Regions from separate parts of the Homo sapiens genome. Here all the other regions are linked to region 5. The links are contacts of gene promoters, found by promoter capture Hi-C in human tissues and cell types (Jung and others, 2019). All regions are on one chromosome and are shown on one strand. The core of a region is centred on a gene start or on the middle of the fragment in contact, and the rest is flanking DNA. Distances in the headings are between cores, read along the strand shown.

The links. Contacts are between HindIII fragments. The study calls those that stand out against the background at their distance.
Region 1: a fragment that was not itself captured here is called in contact with the fragment with the promoter of VPS18 in region 5 in 3 of the 25 tissues and cell types used here (adrenal gland, heart left ventricle and thymus).
Region 2: a contact is called between a fragment that was not itself captured here and the fragment with the promoter of VPS18 in region 5, in 1 of the 25 tissues and cell types used here (mesenchymal stem cells).
Region 3: a contact is called between the fragment with the promoter of INO80 here and the fragment with the promoter of VPS18 in region 5, in 2 of the 25 tissues and cell types used here (lymphoblastoid cells and mesenchymal stem cells).
Region 4: a fragment that was not itself captured here is called in contact with the fragment with the promoter of VPS18 in region 5 in 1 of the 25 tissues and cell types used here (bladder).
Region 6: a fragment that was not itself captured here is called in contact with the fragment with the promoter of VPS18 in region 5 in 1 of the 25 tissues and cell types used here (pancreas).

The regions. Positions count from the first base shown.
Region 1 is chr15:40,710,396-40,714,489 of GRCh38, reverse strand. All of the region lies in intron 5 of RAD51 (RAD51 recombinase), which reads right to left. Among named protein-coding and RNA genes, the nearest start is that of RAD51, 17 kb to the right of the region's middle. The HindIII fragment of the contact is 9,054 bases long and covers 1-4,094 here.
Region 2 is chr15:41,067,023-41,071,339 of GRCh38, reverse strand. INO80 (INO80 complex ATPase subunit) reads left to right here. Exons shown (of 36, transcript NM_017553.3): 13 at 793-873; 14 at 1,675-1,770. Among named protein-coding and RNA genes, the nearest start is that of INO80, 47 kb to the left of the region's middle. The HindIII fragment of the contact is 5,849 bases long and covers 1-4,317 here.
Region 3 is chr15:41,113,376-41,117,985 of GRCh38, reverse strand. INO80 (INO80 complex ATPase subunit) reads left to right here and starts at 1,706. Exons shown (of 36, transcript NM_017553.3): 1 at 1,706-2,013. RefSeq lists enhancers at 1-502, 1,219-1,318, 1,284-2,063, 2,129-2,208, 2,259-2,308 and 2 more and a silencer at 1,759-2,028. The HindIII fragment of the contact is 26,384 bases long and covers 1-4,610 here.
Region 4 is chr15:40,729,278-40,733,408 of GRCh38, reverse strand. RAD51 (RAD51 recombinase) reads right to left here. Exons shown (of 10, transcript NM_002875.5): 8 at 3,775-3,904; 9 at 3,435-3,556; 10 at 1,069-2,354. The coding sequence ends at 2,231. Among named protein-coding and RNA genes, the nearest start is that of RMDN3, 24 kb to the left of the region's middle. The HindIII fragment of the contact is 9,331 bases long and covers 1-4,131 here.
Region 5 is chr15:40,892,465-40,896,756 of GRCh38, reverse strand. It overlaps VPS18 (VPS18 core subunit of CORVET and HOPS complexes), which reads right to left and starts at 2,307. Exons shown (of 5, transcript NM_020857.3): 1 at 1,898-2,307; 2 at 678-819. The coding sequence starts at 1,988. RefSeq lists an enhancer at 1,492-1,581 and a silencer at 2,422-2,591. The HindIII fragment of the contact is 19,251 bases long and covers 1-4,292 here.
Region 6 is chr15:40,643,629-40,647,820 of GRCh38, reverse strand. KNL1 (kinetochore scaffold 1) reads right to left here. Exons shown (of 26, transcript NM_144508.5): 15 at 2,734-2,824; 16 at 2,049-2,165; 17 at 747-834. Among named protein-coding and RNA genes, the nearest start is that of RAD51-AS1, 49 kb to the left of the region's middle. The HindIII fragment of the contact is 5,654 bases long and covers 1-4,192 here.

The DNA of each region.
Region 1 (4,094 bases), core at 808-3,307, 180 kb after region 5:
TAGGATTCTATTTGTACAACTTTGGAGTGTCAGCATGCTATGCTGAGTTGCCATGGCAACTATAGATATTATGTACTGTAGTCTAAATACTTATTCTACATAAGTCCCTGTCAAAACATGGGAAAACATTTCTATTTAAAAAGGTCACATATCATGTCAAATGACGGATGTAAGAGTGACATTTTAAACAGCCCTAATTCCCTTTAGCTATCAAATTTCTAATGGAGCTCACGCAATAGCTATAGCTTCTATAACTTACTCTTCCTCTTCTCAATGTTTCCTCCCTTATTATCATAAAAGGTCTCCTAAGCATCCTCCTCCACCCCTCCCCCTCAGCTCTTTCTTCCTAATGATTATGAGGATCTGGGTGCAGAGGCATTCACCTGTAATCCCAGCTATGTGGGAGGCTGAGGTTGGAGGATTGCTTGCGCTCAGGAGTTCAAGAACAGCCGGTGCAACATAGTGAGACCCAATCTCAAAAAAAAAAAAAAAAAAGAATTTATTTCTGAGGAGAGTTAACAATGGATTAGGTCTACTCGATACTGACATGCTAGCTTGGCTGTCTCATAAGACATATGGCAGCCAGCCAGGCACGGTGGCTCACACCTGTAATCCCAGCATTTTGAGAGACCAAGGTGGGCGGATCACAAGGTCAGGAGATCGAGACCATCCTGGCTAATACGGTGAAAACCTGTCTCTACTAAAAATACAAAAAATTAGCCAGGCGTGGTGGCGGGCGCCTGTAGTCCCAGCTACTCGGGAGGCTGAGGCAGGAAAATGGCGTGAACCCAGGAGGCGGAGCTTGCAGTGAGCAGAGATGGCACCACTGCACTCCAGCCCAGGCGACAGAATGAGACTCCGCCTCAAAAAAAAAAAAAAAAATTGTAACATTTTGGTCTGCAAAGAAAATATCAGTGGAGCAATAAACAATTAAAATGACAACAAAAAGCCGGGCATGGTGGCTCACACCTGTAATCCCAGCACTTTGGGAGGCTGAGGCGGGTGGATCACCTGAGGTCAGGAGTTCAAGACCAGCCTGGCCAACACAGCAAGACCTTGTCTCTACTAAAAATACAAAAAATTAGCTGTGTTGGGTGGCAGGCACCTGTAATCCCAGTTTGGGAGGCTGAGGCTGGAGAACTGCTTGAACCCAGGAGATGGAGGTTGCAGTGAGCCAAGATTGCGCCACTGCACTCCTGCCTAGGCGACAGAGACTCCGTCTCAAATAAAAAAAAAAAAAAAAAGGAAAATAAGAAAAATGGGAGGCTATCAAGCTAGGTTACTTGATGTTAAATTTAAATAAACTTGGGCCAGGCACGGTGGCTCACTCCTGTAATCCCAGCACTTTGGGAGGCCAAGGCGGGCAGATTAACTTGAGGTCAGGAGTTTGAGACCAGCCTGGCCAACATGGTGAAACCTCGTCTCTACTAAAAATACAAAAATTAGCTGGACGTGGTGGCCGTCATGCCTGTAATCCCAGCTATTCGGGAGGCTGAGGCAGGAGAATGGCTTGAACCTGGGAGGCAGAGGTTGCAGCAAGCCAAGATCACACCACTGCACTACAGCCTGGGCAACAGAGCAAGACTCTTTCTCAAAAAAAAAAAAAAAAAAAGAAAAGAAAAGAAAAAAAAACTCAACAGAGTTGAGTCCCGAGGATAGAAAAACACTAGGAAGCCTCTTCTGTAACACTGATATAAGGCAGATTTTGTTTCAGTTGTTTTGATCTCCAACAGTAAGTTGTGCCCATGGCAGAAGTGGGTATAATCTATCTAGATTAAAATAATGCCATGTTTTTCAAAATAACTAAAATTATAATAAAGCTTCAAAAGATTATAACAGAAGAGTTGGTCCATGGGCATGGGCCAGGTTCAAGGATACTTTGTGGACTGGCCACTTATGCAGCACATCCTTAAAGCCAGAGAACATTAAGACTCACTTAGACAAGGAAAAACGGCTCCCCATTACACTGCCTGAAGTTGCAGAAAAGATGAAAGTTTGTTAGCTTTCTCTTCTATATCCTACTCCCTTCCTTTCTCATGGATCTTTCGTTTCCAGATTCCATTTTTACTTCTCTGTGTGACTTAGTTCCACATCTCTCAATACAGCTAGAAATTTTCACTCGGGGTTTGTCACCTCAAACCTGTCATCTCTAAACCTGTACTCATGTTTCCAACAAAACTGTCTTCCCCTCTCAAACACTTTTTAGGTTTACTAAGTTACTGTAATACATTGTTGGGCTGAGGTGTATTTTTTATTGTCAGTCATCAAGCGCTGCCCTTTACAACATCTTTTCCCTACTTCTCTTTATTGTCACTATCTTAGTTTCCTGACCAGCTAATGCTTACTCTTCATAAAATCAAGTTTAAACTTCTTAACCTTCTGAAATAGGATCTTAATTTTTTTTTTTTTTTTGAGATGGAGACAAAATCTTGCTCTGTTGCCCAGGCTGGAGAGCAGTGGTACAATCTTGGCTCATGGCAACCTTGGCCTCCTGGGCTCAAGCGATTCTCCCGCCTCCACCTCCCAAGTAGCTGCCACTACAGGCACAGCCCACGTCTGGCTAATTTTTATATTATTTGTAGAGATAGGGTCTTGCCATGTTGCCCAGGCTGGTCTCAAACTCCTGAGCTCAAGCGATCCACCCACCGTGGCCTCCCAAAGTGCTGGGATTACAGGTGTGAGCTATCATGCCCAGTTTGATGTATCTTTTTAAGGGTCATCTCCTACAACTTTTCTACACAAACTCTAAACCAGTTAAATGACCTTGCTTATTTATTGTCTTTTCCTTCTAACTTATGCCTTCCCATCCTCTGTTCATCCCATTCTATACAGTTAAATGCTTTTAATTTCCTTCCTTCCCAAATTTAGCATTCTTCAGAAGTCTGGTCCAAAATCTTTTCTCCATAAAGTATTCCATGATCACTCTAGGGTGAAATTACCCCTTTCTATTCCTTAAACAGCTAACCCATTTCCTCTGTGACATTCATTTTATATATCAGGCATGTTTTTGGACATCTATTATCTCCACTCATTCAAGCATTTATTGTTTACTGAGAGCCAAACACTGCCTTAGGCACTAGCAATACAGCAGAAAACATGCAGTGGCACGATCCCAGTCACTGGAGCCTCGACCTCTTGGGCTCAAGAGATTCTACCACCTCAGCCTCCTGAGTAGCTAGGACCACAGGTACACATCATCATGCTGGGCTAATATTTTTAATTGTCTGTTTTTGTTTGTTTGTTTTTAGAAATGGCATCTCAGAAACAGGGTCTCACTATGTTGCCCAGGCTGGTCTCAAATTCCTGGTCTCAAGCAATCCTCCCACTTTGGCTTCCCAAAGTACTGGGATTACAGGCATGAAACACCATGCTGGCCTCTTATGAAGTTTTAAGAACATCATCTCTGAAGTCTGGTTTGAGTCCAGTATTTGCTACTTAAATACAATGTATTGGGCAATTATTTAACCTACTGTGTCTATTTCCAAATCTTCCCACCAATAGGAGCATAAGTAAAGGAAAAAGAAACTGAAGGGGTCCAGGGAAGGTTTTTTCCTAATGGAGGAGACACTAGACATATTTGTATACTGATGAGGATAATCTCATAGAGAGGTACAAGAGAAAATGGAAGGAGTAGAGTCCTTGAGAAGGTGGCAGGAGATGGTAACCAAATCATATTGATAGAATGGGCCTTTGAGAAGAAAAGGGACACTTTCTCAATTGTAACCTGAGATAAGAAAAGATGGGCACAAATGTAGATTTGATGCAAAGAGCAGGTTAGGTTTTTGGCTAAGAATGAGAGTTGAAGAGGAGCATAAAGTTCTGATAACAGAAGACGAAGTATGAGATATGAGATGCCTGTCTAACTCAGTGGGAAAGTACACCTAAATGGAGAAAGTAGACTGCCAAGAAGTTTTGAATGTTAATCTAAAGTTTTGTCATCTTGAATTTTTTTCCTTTTTTCATTCTTTTTTTTTTTTTTTTTTTTTTTGAGACAGAGTCTCGCTTCTTTGACCAGGCTGGAATGCAATGGTGCGATCTCAGCTCCCTGCAACCTCTGCCCCCCGGGTTCAAGCGATTCTCCTGCCTCAGTCTCC
Region 2 (4,317 bases), core at 1,149-3,648, 170 kb before region 5:
CAGCACACCAACATGGCACATGTATACATATGTAACAAACCTGCACGTTGTGCACATGTACCCTAGAACTTAAAGTATAATTAAAAATAAATTAATGTAGATTTATTAAAAAATAAAAAGCTATATCCTTTGACAAGAGGCAGAAGGATGTCTCTGTTTCTCTTTCTTTTTGAGACAGGATCTTACTCTGTCACCCAGGCTGAAGTGGAGTGGTGCGTTTATGGCTCACTGTAGCCTTAAACTCCTGGGCTCAAGTGACCCTCCTGCCTCAGCCCCCAGAATAGCTGGGACTGCAGACACATGCCACCACGCCTGACTAATTTTTGTATTTTTTGTAGAAACGGGCTGTCTCCATGTTGCCCAGACTGGTCTCAAACTCCTGGGCTCATGCGATATGCCTGCCTCGGCCTCCCAAAGTGCCGGGACGGGCATGAGCCACTGCACCCAGCTGATGTCTTTTTGTTTTTTTGTAACCTGGAGATCCTACTGGAGAATATTTGTGTATTTCTTATGGTTTGTCTTATATGGACTTGGTAAATCTAATTGCTTTTGTGTCTGGGTTGTATTAGCTAACAGATTGGCCTTGCCCTGTCTCATGTATCATGGTTCATAGTTGTAGCTGTAGCATTGGCAAAAGCAATTACTATAGCAGTGGGTAAAAGTGCTGAGGCTGAGTATCTCTGGTCACTTCTCTTTAAACAAGCCTGTTATCTTGGTCGTTCTTTTTGGTAACAGGTTGAACTTTATTTGATGAAATGCATGAGGTGTTGACCATGTATTTTTTTTCCCCAGGGTATTAATGGCATTCTTGCTGATGAAATGGGCCTTGGTAAAACAGTACAGAGCATTGCCCTTCTGGCCCATCTGGCTGAGGTGGGTAGATGCAATCTTTCTATCTTCATTTCTCTAGAATTTAGGGTAATTTCTGTTGAAAATCAGCCACTTAAAAGCACTATGTTAAGCTGTGTAGCATTCCAAGATAGTGGGACTGGGTTCTTGCCTCAGAGCTTTATAAGGGGACAGTGTTTTATAACTTTTTGGTTTTTAAGAGGGCTAGGACAATTTTTGAGCATGTGATTTTGAGACACTCCTTTCCGCTCTGCATTAATTACCACCAGTGTAGTGGCAAGGGCCATATAGTTAGATCAGAACACCTTGCCTAACATTTCAGCTCTACTCTTATTACCAGTGTAAACTTGGGCAATTTAGCCTCTTTTTCAACTTAACTCTCTGAGGCTTAGTTTCCTCTTCCTCTTCCTCTTCTATGGAGACGTTATCTACTTTATAGGAATTTTATAAGAATTAAATTTTAAAAATGCGTAAAACTGAAAAAAAAGCAAAAGCTCTATACCTATTAAATAACTACAAGATTGTCGGATAACTAGTATAGTAGAAAACAATACATACAAGTCAGTGTGTCATGAATGCTTTGTGGATAAGACCTATAAGAGGTCAGAAGAGGGAATAGTTGCTTGCCATTTTTTTCTCAGGTGTGTCTTTATGTTCTTATTATTAACATAGGATATTACTATTGAATGTGCAGATTTGGGATTTACTCACTGTTTCTCTTGTTATTTGTTTCCTATTCTTAGATTGTTCTTGTCATTAATTATAATTTTGAATTAAATACCTTCCCTTTTCCTGTAGTTGGCTGACTGGGTTTTTCTGTTGCAGAGAGAGAACATTTGGGGACCTTTCTTAATAATTTCACCTGCGTCTACACTTAACAATTGGCACCAGGAGTTTACTAGATTTGTTCCTAAATTTAAGGTAAATATCAGTCCAACCAAAACATCTATTGCTCTTTAAAATAAACTTTTTGACTCTCCTTTTCTTGCCCTACTAATTACTCATAACAGTTTTAAATTTTGGCCGGACTTGGGGGCTCACACTTGTAATCTCAGCACTTTGGGAGGTTGAGGTGGGTGGATCACGAGGTCAGGAAGTCGAGATCATCCTGGCTAACATGGTGAAACCCCGTCTCTACTAAAAATACAAAAAAAAAATTAGCCGGGCATGGTGCCATGTGTCTGTAGTCCCAGCTGCTCAGGAGGCTGAGGCAGGAGAATCGCTTGAACGGGGCAGGGCCAGGGGGGTGAGGGGGCGAGGGGAGGTTGCAGTGAAGGGAGGTTGTAGCAAGCCGAGAATGTGCCGCTGCACTCCATCCAGGGCGACAGAGCAAGACTCCTTCCGTCACAAAAACAAAAATATACATTGTTCCAAAATAACTTGCATATAATCACTATAAAACTTACTGCTGGGAACAATGAGTGCATATTGCATTTAGCCTGATAAATGGATACTCGTGGTCAAACTGCCACGGTAGAAAACATCTACCTTATTTGGTTTAACATAGATTTTTGACAAATCATACCATCAGTACACATCCTATCATTTACGGCATTTCTCTTTTCATTTAAATCTATTGTAAATAATTCATTTCTTTTTTTTAATACATGTCTTGTTTTTGTTTTTGTTTTGAGATGGAGTCTCACTCTGTCGCCGAGGCTAGAGTGCAGTGGCACAATCTCGGCTCACTGCAACCTCCATCTCCCAGGTTCAAGCAATCCTCCTGCCTCAGCCTCCTGAGTAACTGGGATTACAGGTGTCTGCCACCATGCCCAGCTAATTGTTTTGTATTTTTAATAGAGAGAGGGTTTCACCATGTTGTCCAGGCTGGTCTCAAACTCTTGACCTCAGGTGATCCACATGCCTGGGCCTCCGAAAACGCAAGGATTACAGGCATGAGCCACCGCACACAGCTGTTGTTTTTTTTTTTAATCAGAGTTTCACTCTTGTTACCCAGGCTAGAGTGTAATGGTGCAAACTCTGCTCACCGCAACCTTTGCCTCCAGGGTTGAAGTGATTCTTCTGCCTCAGCCTCCCGAGTAGCTGGGATTACAGGCATGTGCCACCATGCCCGGCTAATTTTGTATTTTTAGTAGAGACGGGGTTTCTCTACTGACGATGTTGGTCAGGCTGGTCTCGAACTCCCGACCTCAGGTGATCCACCCATGTCAGCCTCCTGAAGTGCTGAGATTACAGGTGTGAGCCACTCCATCCAGCCCATTTTGCTTTTTTAGTAGAGGCAGGTCTCACTATGTTGCCCAGGCTGGTCTTGAACTCCTGGCCTCTAGTCATCCTTCTGCGTCAGCCTCCCAGAGTCCTGGGATTACAGGCACGAGCCACCAAACCCAGCCAGTTCATTTTCTTAATACTCTAAAGTCTGATCTCTAGTCTTAGTCCAGCTTATAATGTCTAAGGTAGATAATGTGAACATCGATTTAATTAATTCAGAGGAAAAGAATTCAGGTTGAAGTAGGGGGTGATCAGGGAAGTATTTGGCATCCATTGGGCAAGACATTGATTAGATTTAAACAGCTGCTTAGTTATGAAAAGTTGGAGGAATTTAAGAAAGAATGAATAGGATTTATTGTTTGCAATTTAAAAGAATTGAAAATGAGTTAAATATGTGTTCTGTCCCTAAAGGAATATGATAATGAAGTTGCACAGTTAAGATAGTATTTTGGAGATTATATATCAAAATATGTTGACATGATCTCTGTGATTTTGGGTCTCTGTAATAGTGATGGGTTTCCTGTAGTTGGAGCTTGGGATAGGGTAGAAATGTGAGGCAGGTATTTTTCTGGCTTATGCTTTGTATGGAATAGGAAATTGTCTGGGATTTCCCACTTTGAGGCAGCTTTATGGCTGTGGTCCCATTTTGTGGCTAAATTGTAGATGTAGAAACTGTATAAGGAGTGTTAGGATATATAGCTTTTAATTTGACTGACTCATTTTCATCTTGCTGAGATGATGATGAGATCATTCTAATGCAGTTTGTTGACTATTTTCTCTTAAATTGTTTGTCTTGTGGAATGGTGATCACCATCTTTTTCTGCTTTTTTTTTCATATGATGTTCAGTATATATTGAACAATGCAGATCTTGAAAAATAAAAGATCTTGGCCGGGCATGGTGGCTCATGCCTGTAATCTCAGCACTTTAGGAGGTGAGGCGGGTGGATCACAAGGTCAGGAGTTTAAGACCAGCCTGGCCAAGATGGTGAAACCCTGTCTCTACTAAAAATACAAAAATCAGCCAGGTGTTATGGCGGGCGCCTGTAATCCCAGCTACTCGGGAGGCTGAGGCAGGAAAATTGCTTGAACCCGGGGGGCAGAGTTTGCAGTGAGCCGAGATCATGCCACTGCACTCCAGCCTGGGCGACAGAGTGAGAATCCGTCTCAAAAAGAAAAAAGAAAAATAAAAGGTCTTAAAATTTTTTCACCAAACCACTTAAGTTTTCAGTAGCTCTTCC
Region 3 (4,610 bases), core at 457-2,956, 220 kb before region 5:
CCACGCCCGGCTAATCTTTTTTTTTTTTTTTTTTTTTTTTTTTCAGTAGAGACGAGGTTTCACCATGTTGGCCAGGCTGGTCTCAAAATCCCGACCTCAAGTGATCCACCCGCCTCAGCCTCCCAAAGTGCCGGGATTACACGCGTGAGCTACCGCGCTTGGCTTGCAAATGTAACTTTTTTTTTTTCTTTTTGAGATGGATTTTTTTTTTTTTCTTTTTGATACGGAATTTCGCTCTTGCTGCCCAGGCTGGAGTGCAATGGTGCGATCTCGGTTCACTGTAACCTCCGCCTCCCAGGTTCAAGCGATTCTCCTGCCTCAGGCTCCCAAGTAGCTGGACTACAGGCACCCGCCACCACGCCCGGCTAATTTTTGTATTTTTAGTAGAGATGGGGTTTCACCATATTGGTCAGGCTGGTCTCGAGCTCCTGACCTCAGGTGATTCGACCACCTGACCTCCCAAAGTGCTGGGATTACAGGCGTGTGGCACTGCACCCTGACACAAATTTAACTTTTTAAAGGTCAGTTAACTCAGCACAAGAAGGCTACTTGATGACCTTAATAAAGTACTTTTTAGTTAAATGCTAAGGGCCAGGTTAAAATGGATTAAAGAATGAGACCCAAAGGAACTGAATTAACAGCATATTTAACTTTCAGTAAGTTCTAATTCTTATCTACACCTAGGCCTTACCCTAGGCAATTCTCACCACACATCCTGGTAGTTGGGTCGATTACATTTATTATGTTGTCTTTTTTGTAGAGACGGGGTCTCGCTATGTTGACCAGTCTAATGGACTGCTCTGAGACGTTTGGCCTGAGGTGATCCTTCCAGGCAGGAGGATCACTTCAGGCCAGGAGACTGGGAACCAGCCCAGTAGACTGGGCAACATAGCGAGACCCCAAGTTTAGTAAATGTGGGTGGCAGTGGACTCAAATTGTAGAATTGGCACAGGTAAAAGCAATTATTCGCTTTTCAGAGGCACACTGTGTGGATGTGAGAACAGGCTGGCATTTCCGATAACAGGTCTGCGTGTTCCCAAGTCCTTGTATCCCACAACCTTCACGTAGACATCTTATCTAACTATGCTGTCCTACCCAACCTATAGCGTTCTTGCTCCCAGAGTCTAAATGGGAGCCCCAAACTAATTACTGTATAGTAGTCGAACTACACACCAGGCACTTCCCCGACAATCTACAACCCCATCCAAAGGGGTCAGAAACTAGTAACAAAATACCAGCTGCGAGCCTCTCCTTCCCCTAAAGAGATCTTATCAACTTGGCTGCACCTTCCCACCTCTAGCCTGCGGGAACAAATATCCCAGGATCCCGGGCGGTTTCGATTGACGTTACTTCCGGGAAAAGTAACCTTGCATCGGCGGTTGCGGGCCTGGAAAGCTCTCGCGACATTTTCTCCTGCGAGATCTGCTTGCTCACTGTAGCGATGACATCCTCCTCCTCCTCCCCGCCGCCTTTCGGCAATCTTCGCCAGTCCCAGTCCCGACTAATCTGTACTCAGATGGCATGGATCAGGGTCTCCCCTCGAACCCCGGTTCGCACGGGGCGTCAGGTGGCAGCGGCGGGGTGCGAGCTGCGCGAGGCCGACGGCAGCGGCACTACGGGTGGCCACGGGCAGGCGACGAGCAGTGAGTGTGGGCGGGGTGGGGGTAAGCCACCCGTGTAGCGGCTCGATTGTTCTGGCCTGGCTATGGCGCCTCTCCTCCCCCCCGCCATGGCTCCCCGTGTCCCTGCTCCGCTCCTCTCAGTGAGTGAAAGTGGCCGCCGCCGCCGCCGGCCCAGCGCCCGCAGCCGCCTCAGCGCCGCCGCCATCTTGGGGTCCCAGGAGCCGCGGAGGGAGCGAGCTAGGAGCGTCCACGCCCAACGCAGTCACCGTCCCACGGCCTCAGAGAGCGAACCGCGGCTCCACCGTCGGCGGGGCGACCCCCCCCTCCGGACCCCGCCCGCACCCCGCCCCCCCTCCGCCGCCGTCGCGGCGGCGGGGCCAGGCGGCCCGAGGTGAGGCAACTAGACGTGGGCGGGCGAACGGAGTGGGGGTTGTGTAGGTCTTGTTGCGCCCCTCTCTGCGGGCGACAACTGGGCCGCGTCTTAAAGGGGCCGTCGCCCCCGGCCCTTGGATTTGTTGGGGTTAGTATGGAGGATGGGTGTGGACACTCCCCGCAGGGTTGGGACCTCAGGGACTAGGGCCTTGTCCTTCCCGTTTCATATCTCTGGAGACCCGGGGTCATGCGGTGACCTCAGCCACCTGAGGAAGCCCGTGGGGCGCCCACACGTGGGGAGTGTGTTAGACCAGGTGCACGTGGGACCCGGTGGGGCGGTGTCGGGCTAACACGTGTGTAGGTTTGGGGGTGGGCAGGGGCAGGGCGGAGGCTGGAAGGCCTTGAGTGGGAACCCCGTGAAGGTTGTGTATCTGTCATTTTAAACAAATGAGATCTAAGGGCTTGTTAGTGTGTCATTTTGTAAGGGGCAAGTTGAGATACGGTTGAATGGTGCACGCTGCTGGCTGGTGTTGGGTGGGGGCAGGCTGACACCTGCATAGACTTGGGAGTGTCTAGATGACACCTCTTCTGGTTTTTTAGGTTTTTACATAGCGACTAGGAAAGTGTCATCCTATTTTGACATTCCTTCTTGAGCTCGCTAATGGAAAGTACTACTTCCGTAATCTCCGAGGCTAGAAGCCCCCTACAGTTTAGGAATGACAGAACCTAGGCAGCCACTTACTATTCTAGTTAACAGCCAACTGTGCCTGGAATTCTTTGATTCACACACTGTCTCTAGTTTGATGTACTTGTTAGAAATGGGGGAAGGAATTTGGAGGTTGACCTGGCTAACGTCACAGGTTACTTTTCCAGTCAGTGACTTTCATTATTTCCTCCACAACAAAATTATTGTGGCTTTTCAGTGGCAACTTAAATTAAATAATAGCTTTATTGAAATATGATTCAAATACCAAAAAATTCCGCTTTCTAAAGCGTATAATTAAGTAATTTTCTGAAACTATATTTATTAAATTCTGTAGCCATCAACCACTATTTAATTCATCACCCTAAAAGAGAATCTCTAGAAGCCATTTAGCAGTCACTCCCCATTCCCCCTCCCTCCAGTCTTAGGTAACTATTAATATATTTTTTGCCTAAATTTACCTAAAAAAGAAACATATGTATCTTTCTTTGCCTAGTTTGTTTCACTTAACATGGTGTTTTCAAGGTTCATCCGTGTTGTAGCAGGTATCAGTACTTAATTCCTTTTTTTTTTTTTTTTTGAGACTGAGTCTCGCTCTGTCGTCCAGGCTGGAGTGCAGTGGCGGGGTCCCGACTCACTGCGACCTCCGCCTCCCAGGTTCAAGCACTTCTCGTGCCTCAGCCTCCCCAGTAGCTGGGATTACAGGCGGCTGCCACCACACCCGGCTAATTTTTGTATTTTTAGTAGAAACGGGGTTTCACCATGTTGGCTAGGCCGGTCTCGAACTCCTGACCTCAAGTGATCCGCCTGCCTTGGCCTCCCAGAGTGCTGGGATTATAGGCATGAGCCACCGCACATGGCCTCATTTGCTTTTAATGCCAAATAATATTCTGTTCTAGTTGCATTTTATGTTTGAAATTTCCAAGCTCCTCCTCCTATAAAACAATTTGAGATCATTATGTGTGGTAAAAGTTGCATACCTTCTAGACTTTAAAATGAATGTTTTTTTTTTTTTGTTTTTTGAGACGGAGTCTGGCTCTGTCGCCCAGGCTGGAGTATAGTGGCGTGATCTCGGCTCACTGCAGCTTCCGCCTCCCGGGTTCAAGCAATTCTCCTGCCTCAGCCTCCTGAGTAGCTGGTATTACAGGCGCCCGCCACCACACCCAGCTAATTTTTGTATTTTTAGTAGAGACGGGGTTTCACCATGTTGGTCAGGCTGGTCTCGAGCCCCTGACCTCGTGATCCACCTACCTTGGCCTCCCAAAGTGCTGAGATTACAGGCGTGAGCCACCGTGCCCGGCTGAATTTTGTTTTTAAGGGATTGAATTCCATCATTTTAGCTTACTGTGTTCTTTTCCTCTACGTTTTATTTCAGTAGAAACCAAATCAATTTTTGAAAGTCTGTAAATTGTGATAGGAAATAATTGTAGTGAGCACAAATGTGATTAGAAAAGTTTATGACTAATAAAAACATTTTGAGTACATCAAGGTGGAAATGTGATTAAGCCAAAGCAACAAATCGAGAGCTATTCTGCTGGGCATGGTGTCTCAAGCCTGTAGTCCCAGTTACTCAGGAGGCAAGAGGATCACTTGAGTCCCTAGTGAGCTATGATTGTGCCAGCGCACTCAAGCCTGGGTGGAGAGCGAGACCCTGTCTCTAAAAACAAAACAAAACTAATTATAAGCTGTGGTGTTAGAGGTTCACTTAATGAAAGTTTGTTGGCCGGGTGCGGTGGCTCACGCCTGTAATCCCTGCACTTTGGGAGACTGAGGCAGGTGGATCACCTGAGGTCAGGAGTTCGAAACCAGCCTGGCCAACATGGTTAAACTCTGACTCTACCAAAAATACAAAAAATTAGCTGGGCGTGGTGGCGCGCACCTGTAATCCCAGCTACTCAGGAGGCTGAGGCAGG
Region 4 (4,131 bases), core at 1,225-3,724, 160 kb after region 5:
GTGCGTCCCACCATGCCCAAATAATTTTTTAATTTCTAAATTTTTTGTACAGGGTTTCACCATGTTGCCCAGGCTGACCTCAAACTCCTGATTCAAGTGGTCTACCCACTTTGGCCTCCCTAAGCATTGGGATTACAGATGTGAGCCACCGCACCTGGCCCAGTCCCTGATTTATTTATTTATTTATTTATTTAGAGACGGAGTTTCGCTCTTGTTGCCCAGGCTGGAGTGCAATGGCGCAATCTCGGCTCACCGCACCCTCCGCCTCCCAGGTTCAAGCGATTCTCCTGCCTCAGCCTCTCCAGTAGCTGGGATTACAGGAATGCACCACCATGCCCAGCTAATTTTGTATTTTTAGTAAAGACGGGGTTTCTCCATGTTGAGGCTGGTCTCGAATTCCTGACCTCAGGTGATCCACCCACCTCGACCTCCCAAAGTACTCACACCTGTGATCCCAGAACTTTGGGAGGCCGAGGTGGGCGGATTACCTGAGGTCAGGAGTTCAAGATCAGCCTGGTCAAAATAGTGAAAAACTTCTCTACCGAAAATAAAAAAATTTGTCAGGCGTGGTGGCACGTGCCTGTAATCCCAGCTACTCGGGAGTCTGAGGCAGGAGAATTGCTTGAACCTGGGAGGTGAAGGTTGTAGTGAGTTGTGCTACTGCACTCCAGCCTGGGCAACAGAGTGAGAGACGGTCTCAAAAAAGACTAGAACGGCTTTTAAAACAAAGCATTGTAGAGCTATGTGTGGTGGTTCGTGCCTGTAATCCCAACACTTTGGGAGGCCAAGGCCGGCAGATCACTGAGATCAGGCGTTCGAGACCAGTCTGGCCAACATGGTGAAACCCCATCTCGATTAAAAATACAAAAATCAGCAGGGCGTGGTGGCGGGCGCCTGTTGTCTCAGCTACTTGGGAGGCTGAGGCTGGAGAATTGCTTGAACCCAGGAGGTGGAGGTTGTGGTGAGCCGAGATCACGCCATTGCACTCCAGCCTGGGCAACAAGAATGAAACTCCATCTCAAAAACAAAAAAAAAAAAAAAAGGAAAGGGGGGCCACAAGGCAACCCATGGTATGTCTTTCTTTTATTTTTCCATTAGCTTTTAAGCACAATCATCTGCAAGTGGGACTTTCCTTTCTGGTTTCAAATCTTGAAGCAACAGAAACTGATCACCCCTATACAGTGCCAAAAAGATTATGGAAACCCTGTCTTGAAATAGCTTGCACTGCAATAATTGCTATAAACAGCACATTCACTACTAATAACTACTTTATTAGAAGCCTCACAATCAAATCTGTTTACTTACCCTCTGAAATGTTTCTTGTTTGAAACATGGTCTCACTCTGTCACCCTGGCTGGAATGCAGCAGTGCAATCTCGACTCACTGCAACTTCCACCTTCCAGGCTTAAGTGATTCTCCCACCTCAGGCTATCGAGTAGCTGGGACTACAGGCACGTGTAACAGTGTGTCCAGATTAAGTTCTGCATTTTTTGTAGAGATGGGATTTCACCACCTTGGCCAAGCTGGACTTAAAACTCCTGGGCTCAAGCGATCCACCTGCCTCGGCCTCCCAAAGTGCTGGGAGTACAGGCGCAAGACACCACACTGGCCTGAAATGCTTTAAGACTCTAGGATTATCTTGAGTTAGTCTTAGCAATGAAAGACCAAGCAGGTAGATGGTGAAGGGCTAATGGCCTAGTAGGTTTGGCACAAGACTCCATAACCAAAACCTTACACAAGATCATTCAGACAGACAACTTAAAAACCTGCTTGAGAGTTTTACTGACAGAAAAAAAGAATCTGTGCAGACCCATTCCCTTTGCTACATAGCTGAGGCATTTTATTTTACCATTAATTTAGAAGTGAGAGAAGGGTCAGGTCTCTCCAGCTTTAGTTCTCTTGGAAACATAAGATTGTCCAGTAGACAGCTTGTTAAACCCAAGTCATTCCTAAGGCACCATGTCAAAGATACTTCATACCCCTCCTCCAAAACCAAAGAAAACACACAGAGATTAATACACTACAGAAGGAATAAACATTTTAGATCAGTTTGTGACTACTGACCTGTCTCCTGTTTATACCATCAGAAAAGCTGATATAATAGCTGTTTTCCCGGAAGCTTTATCCTGGCAGTCACAACAGGAAGAGGCCTGTAGAGAACCCCAGGGAGCAGTGCACTCTCATTAGGCTGCAGCACTTAAGGTTTTTAACAGAGGAAAAACCCAATGATTCAGTCTTTGGCATCTCCCACTCCATCTGCATTAATGGCGAACATAGCTTCAGCTTCAGGAAGACAGGGAGAGTCGTAGATTTTGCAGATTCTGGTTTCCCCTCTTCCTTTCCTCAGATACAATCTGACCCAAAGACACAGACCAAAGCACCAATTTATTATAATTAAACAATTCCGTTCCTGACTTTGTAACAGAGCTGAAAATTTTTTAGACATATATTCTTCCTAGAAGGACCCTGGGAATGTTTCTGTACTGTTTTCCTTAGTGCATTTCCAACCTGGCAGAATCCATTTTTGCCCTGGCCCCTCTCAGTGGATTGTCCATATTGAAACAAACATTAAAAAAAGAAAAATTTAGGCCGGGCATGGTGGCTCACGCCTGTAATCCCAGCACTTTGGGAGGCTGAGTTGGGCAGATCACGAGGTCAGGAGATCGAGACCATCCTGGCTAACACTGTGAAACCCCATCTCTACTAAAAATACAAAAAAATTAGCCAGGTGTGGTGGCGGGTGCCTGTAGTCCCAGCTATTCGGGAGGCTGAGGCAGGAGAATGGTGTGAACCCGGGAGGCGGAGCTTGCAGTGAGCCGAGATCGTGCCACTGCACTCCAGCCTGGGTGACACAGCGAGACTCCATCTCAAAAAAAAAAAAAAAAAAAGAAAAAAAATTTTTTCAAGACAGTGTCCTGCTCTTTTGCCAGGCTGGAGTGCAGTGATGTGTGATCATAGCTCAATACAGCCTCGAATTCCTATGCTCAACTGATCCTCCTGCCTCAGTCTCCTGGGTAGCTAAGACTACAGGCACACGCCACCACACCAGCTACTTTTTTTTGTAGAGACAGAGGCCTCACTTTGTTGCCCTTACTAGTGTCGAATTCCTGGCCTCAAACCATCCTATCACCTTGGCCTCCCAAAGTGTTGGGATTACCAGTGTGAGCCACTGTGCCCAGCCCAAACATTTTTTAAATAACAGGGGAGAGGCATATCAATTACTCATATTCATTCTTCCACACTTGTGGGTTTTTAATTCTTTTATGAACTAAAACATCTATACCAACGAGAGCATGTTAATTAGATTAGCAAGAGTTCCTAAGTGTCTATACAACAGTAGCTTTAACAGGGCTTAAATGAAAATGTTATATCTTCATGTCTTCACAGTTAATATGACATTCCGAAAAGAAGAACTGATCCCATCAACACCTTACCTGGTTGTTGATGCATGGGCGATGATATTTCCTCCAATAGGTTTTTTGGGATCAGCAGCAAACATCGCTGCTCCATCCACTTGAGCTACCACCTGATTAGTGATTACCACTGCTACACCAAACTGATGGGGAAAGGATAAATGTCAATTTTGTGGCCATAGACACTCCAAAAGCCTTAATGCTGCCACCACTTTCCCCCACAAAATAACGAATAACTAATGTCTCTCTTCTTCCTAAGAGCTTGATGATCTCAGGCACTGATGTCTTAGCCTCCTAGCAAGGCTCCTGGAATTCACAGCCACTGAAAGTAGGCATTCTCTGTCCCTATCCCACAACTTACCTCATCAGCGAGTCGCAGAAGCATCCGCAGAAACCTGGCCAAGTGCATCTGCCTGGCTGAAAGCTCACCTCGACCCGAGTAGTCTGTTCTGTAAAGGGCGGTGGCACTGTCTACAATAAGCAGTGCATACCTACAGGAAACAAGGATTCTCTGAAGCCTATTTCTAGCCTGTGTCAGATTCTGGTCCCTTCCTTACCACCCTAAAATCTCATATTCATAGTTTTTCCTGTATACAGATTTTTTTTTTTTTTTTTTTTTTTTTGAGATGGAGTCTAGCTCTGTCGCCCAGGCTGGAGTGCAGTGGGGCATTCTTGGCTCACTGCAAGCTCTGCCTCCCGGGTTCACTCCATTCTCCTG
Region 5 (4,292 bases), core at 1,058-3,557:
TCACTGCAACTTCCGGCTCCCAGGTTCCAGCAATTCTCCTGCCTCAGCCTCCCCAGTAGCTGAGATTACAGGCGCCTGCCACCACGCCCGGCTAACTTTTGTATTTTTAGTAGAAACAGCGTTTCACCATGTTGGCCAGGCTGGTGTCGAACTCCTGACCTCAGGTGATCCACCCTCCTCAGCCTCCCAAAGTGCTGGGATAACAGGTGTGAGCCACTGCACCTGACTTTTTTTTTTTTTTAAAGAGACAGGAGTACAGTGGTGCAAACACAGCTCACTGCAGCCTTGAACTCCTGGGCTCAAGTGATCCTCTTGCCTCGGCCTCCCCAGTAGTTGGGACTGCACCATCACACCTAGCTAATTTTTAAAAATTTGTTTTGGTAGAGACGGGGGTCTCACTATATTGCCCAGGCTGGTCTCAAACTGCTGATTTCATGTGATCCTCTTGTCTTGGCCTCCCGAAGTGCTGAGATGATAGGTGTGAGCCACCATGCCCTGCCAGGCCAGATACTTAACCACTACCCTGTATTGGTTCTCTTTGGAAAGGGATAGGATATTTCCTGAAAACTCCAAATTCACTGCTTTACTTGCCTGGAATAGAAGAAAGGCCCAGTGAGTTAACAGTCCCCAAACACCTCTCTAGTCCCTACTCCTAAGCTCTGTGAGCTCTTGATTACCGGAGCAGTGTATCCTTGCCCAGGCTCATGCACAGCTGATTGCTGGAGACGACAAGACTGGTAATGCGCTCGGAAGGGGTGAAGTCAATGCGCTGCTTTGTGAAGATGGGCACTTCCTTCTCCAGCTGGGCATTCACATACCCTACAGGTAAGGAATGACAAGAAGATTAGCTGTGGAAGAGACAGGTGAAGGGCAAGGAGAGGCAGAAAAAACACCACAGTGCTCCTCGCCACTTTCCTGACATATTCCTATCCCCAGGACCTTGGTTAACAAATAGTTTGATATCAAGTCGTTTGCTGGTCACCTTTACAATAGAGGTCTGGAGCTCTTTCCACACTCTGACAGCAGTGAGGGGTTGATTCTTTGAACCCTTAAGATGCTGTCACAGCATGATATACCTGCTCCCACTGGTAATGGGGCTGCGTGGAGGTGGGACGGGACTGGTGGTCTGGGTATTCTCCCTTATCAGGTCTTTGGCCCAGCAATCCCAGCTTAACTGAAGTAGTATAGCCCCATTCTCTGCCCCCCTCCCTGCCCATGCGGTAATGAGCCTCAGTGTAGAGTTGGCAAGTGCTGGGATATTTTGAGCATTGAATGAAGGTAAAGACTAGAGTGAAAGCAGCTCCAATTCGTTAACTCCACTCACTGGAACAGTTCCCCAGGGCTCCCTATGCCCTCATTCTCCTGGAGACTCACTACTTTCTACAAAAACGTCCCCAAACTCCAGGCTGCACCCAGCTATAGCCAAGGCCAAAAAGATTTCATCTCCATTTTCCCCGTTCAGCGACAAAATTCCCTCTGGGACCCTCCCTTCTTCCTCTGCAATACTCCGCCTTCACCACTTTCTTTGTCCATTCCTTCCCTCCCACCTCCAGAAGGGGCCTGGTGGGAAAAGCATCAGCAGAAGCCGGGAGCCCATTCTAAGTTCTCCCAACAGCCCAACTGCGCCCTGTAGGTGAGTAATTCCTTATCTGGGCCCCAATTCCCTCTCAAAAGGACCCTAGCGGTAGAGCCTAGATCACGCGGCAGCTCCCGTTGCTCTTTCAAACTTCGACTATCCACCAGCTGGGGGCCAAGAGAGCCTGAGGAGAATCAGGGGCCTAGACCCGGAAGGCACGGCCCAGGGGATGACCCCGAGCTCTTGGAGCTGCCCTCCTCGCTGCTCCCACGCAAATGCTAGGAGAGCCGAAAGGGGCAGCGGCACCCTCCTCTTCCTTACCCGAGTGGGGGATGCCCACGCTAGGGCAGCCGGGCTGCAAGACGGCCGAGCGGGACAGCGAGTTCTCGTACTCATCCAGGATGGACGCCATGGTGCCCGGCCTCTGGGCTCTTTGTCCGGGGCCTGGGGATTACAAAAGGGCTACCCCCCCGGGGTCCCCGTCGCCCCAGAATGGAAGCTGTAACTCCCCAGCCTCTGACAGATCCTGGGAACCTGCAGCCGTCGCCTCCTCTTTAAAATCCTGAGGATCCTCTTGCTCTTGCCTTATGCAGCGAGATAATCGGGCAGCCCTCGTCCTTGAATCTGGCGCAGTCTTGCACCTTACTCCCCGCCCCCGCTACAAAAAAATCACAGGCTCCCTTCAGCCGGTGCCAGGTGATCCCAACCTCGCCCCGGCAGCTCAGCTGACTCCCGCCCCCGTGACGCGGGCCTAAAACGTAACTTCCGGGTTCTCAGAGCCCCGCGTACGCTGGCGCACAACGTCGCCGGGCCAGCCAGCAGAAGGCGAGACGAGGGCTGAGGGCTGGGCGCGTGGCGAGTGCTGCTGAACACAAGCCCCGCCCCCAGGATCCTGCTGCAGTTCCGAGCTTTGACACCAGGAGGCAATCCCGGCTTTCTCAGCCGGCCTTCCCCACCCGCCCCGCGCCGCCCAGTTTTGGCTTTCGTGCCCAAGCTCCGCTCCCTCGGGTGGTCTGTCCAGCCTCCCTGACCAGCTCCCGCTCCCGCCTCTCTAAACAGCCTCGGGGAACCTCCCGTTCCTCAATCCAATCGCTGTCTCTATCCCACCGTCACAGGGCACACGCAGACAACTCCTGGCCACTCTTCTCCCTTACCCAAAGGCCCCCCAGCTTCCAGGAGACCGCAGAGCTGGTGGCCAGGCTAGTGGGAAGCCCTGTGCCAGGAACCGCCCTGACCTGCCCCACAGTGGCTCCTTGGCTCAGGGTTGCTGGGCCGCTTCCATTCACTCATTCACCAAAATGTGGTTGAGCACTTACTCTGTGCCAGGCCTTGGGCTGGGCGCTGGGGTCACAGAGATGAGGACAGCCCCTCCCCGCCCTGGAAAAGGTCGTAAGCCAGCAGGGGCGCTGGACCCGTAAATAGACCATTCATACTAGAAAAGCAAGTGATGGATTATCCATCAGGCACTTACTCCACGAATGAGCGTCCACTCTGTGCCAAGCACTGTTCCAGGCTCTGGGGACGTGGCAGAGAACAAGACGGAAAATGTCTCTTGCCTGGTGGGGCGTACCCAGCGACGTGGCCACGGCACTGAGAGCGTGAAGGAGCAGGGAACAAATACCTGCCAAGCCTAGCAAGAACGAGGGACAAGTGGGAGCAAGCGTGAAGGCGGGGGCCGCCCAGCCTGAGGTGGAGAGGGGAGTCCTCAGCCAGGGACCTGCGAGGGCTGGGGCGCGACTGTGGTTGGGTTTTCCTCTCTCACCTGCTTAGGCGACCCAGATGGAGTCTGTTCCCTTCTGGGGCCCTTGGATTCTACCTTGCTAAAGTGGAAGGCTCTGGACTAGGGTCGCCACCGTCCTGGCTCTGCTGGGCGGCCCCCGCCTAACAACTAAGAGCATCCCTTTGCTCTCAGAAGTTTCCAGGTTTGCACCATACCTTATGTGGTTGGGTTACTCTTGCTCAACTTCCTGGCCACGTGCGGAGAACTGTGACTCTCACCAGCCCCACTGAGGGCTATCTGGGCTCTCTGGCTTGGAGGGGCACTAGTCCTGGGGCAGGTGACAAGTATGCTGTCCAGGCTCATTTCCCTTCGCACCAGGGTCCTGCTTCTCTTGACCAAGCCTGCAGCCTCAATGCAGCCTTCCCACCTGAGGTTGCCAGGTCCCAGGAGGGAAGTGCAGGAGCAGGACAATAGGCAGGAGGCTTCCTCTAAGAAAAGTGATCCCAGACAGGGAGCTGCCCTGCTCCATACATAACACTTCACCCCCAGGTCACCTGCCATCTGCCCTCAGGTCTGGACTGTGCAGAGGGTTGTCCCTGCTGCACAGAGCCCATTAGCAGTTGGAGGTCAGCATAGGAGTGCTGCCTTAGGGACACAGAGTACTTCCAGCTACAGCCTCAGGGACCCCAGCACCCCATTGTTGGGCTCCATGGCTCTCCGGGATGTATGGGATAGGCCTGGGTGGACCCTGTTTGTGGCAGACTCAGTACAGTCTCCCTTATGCGTTGATTACCACAGTGCATTTCCACCTACTCATTCTTCAGTTCTTAGGCTGGACTTTGGATTCTTTGAGAGCCACAGAATCAAGTGTGGCAGTTGCAATGAGACAGGTAAGGGATGACTGCTAGGGCATCAAAAGAGAGGATTCCTGTATGAAAGCAGCTGAATTTGACCCAAGACTTGAAGTGCATGTATGATCTCCAAGGGCAAGCTGTA
Region 6 (4,192 bases), core at 725-3,224, 250 kb after region 5:
TAAGGGAGATGAACATTTCAGGAAGAAAAGAACAGTCATCAGTGTCAAATGCTGAAAGAGGTCAAAATGGCTAAGGACTGAGAAGAACAAAATTTGATGACTATGCAGAATTATGTGATCTTTGAGAAAGGAGTTTCAGGAGAGTAACTCTAAAAAGTTGGGATTATGAAAGACCAAACTGAAAGGATAGACGGTTTTCAAACTGAGATAAATTCATCTATTAAAAAACACAAAATTACAGTCTGGGTTATCTTGAGCAGCTCTTGATTGTATTATGGATGACTATAGTAAAGGAACTTTAATTTGCTCTAATTTATTTATTTATTTATTTTATTATTATTTTTTTTGAGATGGAGTCTCGCTCTGCCACCCAGGCTGGAGTGCAGTGGCGCAATCTTGGCTCACTGCAACCTGCACATCCTGGGTTCAAACTATTCTCCTGCCTCAGCCTCCCGAGTAGCTGGAGTACAGGCGCCCGTCACCACGCCCAGCTAATTTTAAAATTTTTAGTAGAGATGGGGTTTCACCATGTTGGCCAGGCTGGTCTCAAACTCCTGACCTCAGGTGATCCGCCCGGCTTGGCCTCCCAAAGTGCTGGGATTACAGGCGTGAGCCAATTTACTCTAATTTAATATCTCAAGTTGCTAATACAAGTCTTCAATATCGTGGTACCAACATTCTCTACTGTAGGAGAGCATTTAGATAAAATTAAATTTTCTTTTGGAAAAGTATTTAAAATACTTTACCTGTTTCCATCTCAGTGAGGCAGTTATCGATCTTCTTAAGTATTTTATCCATCTCATCTATCTTTATTTGAAGTTTCTCCCTCTCATTCTAAATACAAAAGATTATAGACTGTCAAGTTAAACCTCTAAAGAAAATATTATAAATGGTTCAAACTGCTCACATAATCGCTCTATCATGATCACAAACAGGCAAATCTTTTTTTTTTTTTTTTTTTTTTGAGGCGGAGTCTCATTCTGTTACCCAGGCTGGAGTGCAGTGGCGCCATCTGGGCTCATTGCAAGCTCCGCCTCCCGGGTTCATGCCATTCTCCTGCCTCAGCCTCCTGATTAGCTGGGACTACAGGTGCCTGCCACCATGCCTGGCTAATTTTTTGTATTTTTAGTAGAGATGGGGTTTCACCGTGTTAGCCAGGATGGTCTCGATCTCCCGACCTCGTGATCCGCCCGCCTTGGCCTCCCAAAGTGCTGGGATTACAGGCGTGAGCCACCGCACCCAGCCTACAAACAGGCAAATCTTAAAATGAAGGTCAAAGCTTTAGGTTGGAACTTAAAAAATAAAAGTAAATTTTATTAAAATAAGTTTTAGCCAAAAGAACTCTGGAAAATAAAATGTTTATTTTATAAATTTAATAAAATATTTTATTAAAAGAAAATGAAATAATTTAAAAAGCATATTGACATAAAACTAATTCTGGTACTTTATTTTAGCATTTCTATAGGTGTTCCATGGAATACAATATATTAATATTTATTACTTAAAAACATTTCTATGATAAACTAAACATAGGAAACAGTGGTCAAAAAGAATTACAGCATTTATGCTTAGACTTTAAAAAATTATGTTTCTCTGAAAGGGCATATTGCTTGCAACATTTCCCATACTTACTTGCCAATGGAAAGTTTTTTTATGCAGAGCCTTTTAAAAAAGCTAATCATTTTGGGAAATGCTACTTTAAACACATGTGCATACATATACAGCTTAGTATGGACTATGAAGAAGATAATACTATGGTATAGTCCTTAGCAATGGGAGACCAGAATCCTATGTATTTTATTTCAGTATGTATGATGGATAATAGTATTTGAGATGAGACATAGGCCCACATTAGTAATTATATTCCAGTATTACTCAAGATGTCAGGATTTGCCACTTTTGACAAATTGAACCTTACCTCTTAATTGTTAAGTTTTTGCCCAAGTCTTATTCACATGTCTTCTAAGGAAGATTCTTCATATTCTATAACCATTAGAAAGTAATTTTAATATCTCTCTCTTTCTATGATATTAACTGTCTCAAATTACCTGAGCTGACTGCACCAGCTTGCCATACAGAGCCACTTTTCCTTGGTGAGTGAAGACTTTAGTCATCTTGGTAAAACATGACTTTATTTTGTTAAGATAAATTCCAAAGGCCTTCAGCTGGAAGGGAAAGTTATAGAGAACACTGTACTAAAACAAACGAGTCAGAAGAGGTAAATGGTCTAGGAAGGCTAGGCTTTGCCTATCCTAAGGCAGGATATTTGTCATTTGCAAATTTAATTCCATGTAATTGTCTAAGACCAGAAAAAAGATTTCAGTTTTGATTCCTGCCTTTAATTCACTTATTCATATTATAAATTAGAAAATGACAGGCTCTTAGTTAATGAAACTTTTTAATATATTAGGGCACATATAAAATGGGTTGCTTGCTATTTAATCAATTAAAGTAAATCTTTTCTTCGTCTAAATCTAAGTGAAAGGCAAATAGCAAGGAGGGAACTCTAAATAAACTTCAACTATATTTCATATATTAAATTGATCATCTCAGGTTTGAAAAGATTATATATTAACAATTGTGTGTAATTAAATAAGACCTTGGTACCACATTACACTTAAAAAATAAGTTAAATAACTCATCACTATGACCAAGTAACAGTTACTCATTTCACAATAAACATCGTTCAGAATGTCTTCACTGATTCTCATTCAGAAAATGAGACAAAAGTACCTCTTTGTCAGAGCAGTGTCTCATTTTTTCCCACAGGTTCTTATTTATATCAACCAACAGCTTATCTTGGTTCGATGCAGAAAGCTTTAATCTAAAATACGGAAAAGTTAATTAGCACTGTAGGGAAAAGAAAGAGATCAGACTGTTACTGTGTCTATGTAGAAAGGAAAGACGTAAGAGACTCCATTTGGAAAAAGACCTGTACTTTGAACAACTGTTTTGCTGAGATGTTGTTAATTTGTAGCTTTGCCCCAACCACTTTGCCCCAGCCACTTTGACCCAACCTGAAGCTCACAAAAACATGTGTTGTATGAAATCAAAGTTTAAGGGATCTAGGGCTGTGCAGGACGTGCCTTGTTGACAAAATGTTTACAAGCAGTATACTTGGTAAAAGTCATCGCTATTCTCTAGTCTCAATAAACCAGGGGCACAATGCACTGCGGAAAGCCGCAGGGACCTCTGCCCTTGAAAGCGGGGTATTGTCCAAGGTTTCTCCCCATGTGATAGTCTGAAATATGGCCTCGTGGGATGAGAAAGACCTGACTGTCCCCCAGCCCGACACCCGTAAATGGTCTGTGCTGAGGTGGATTAGTAAAAGACGAAAGCCTCTTGCAGTTGAGATAGAGGAAGGCCACTGTCTCCTGCCTGCCCATGGGAACTGAATGTCTTTGTATAAAACTCGATTGTACATTTGTTCGATTCTGAGATAGGAGAAAAACCGCCCTATGGTGGGAGGCGAGACATGTTTGCAGCAATGCTGCCTTGTTATTCTTTACTCCACTGAGATGTTTGAGTGGAGAGAAACATAAATCTGGCTTAGGTGTACATCCAGTCACCATACCTTCTCTTAAACTTAACTATGACGTAGATTCTATTGCTTACATGTTTTTGTCCTTATTATCACCCTGCTCTCCTACTACATTCCTTCTTGCTGAAATAATGAAGATAATAATCAATAAAAACTGAGGGAACTCAGAGACCGGTGCCAGTGCAGGTCCTTGGTATGCTGAGAGCCGGTCCCCTGGGCCCACTGTTGTTTCTCTATACTTTGTCTCTGTGTCTTATTTCTTTTCTCAGTCTCTCGTCCCATCCGACTAGAAATACCCACAAGTGTGGAGGGGCAGGCCACCTCTTCAAGCGTAGGGTTCAGAAGCCAGCTTGAATGAACCAGCTCAGGTCTACAATCATGTTTAATTTAACTCTTCCTAGTTTTTTTCTACATAATAAGAGGGGAATTCATTCAAGAAAAGCCTGATTATTCACTTGAAGAATAGTAGTTCAAGAATGTCATACATCAAAAAAACTTCTATCACTAACAGAATTCTCATCTCAACGTACCAACTTGTTCCAATGTGAAACATTTCGCTTATAAAGAATCCTAAGGTCTGTCAATGATCGCTGCTATAAAGTTGTAGCTATTATTATTTTATTTTTTTGAGACGGAGTCTCACCCTGTTGC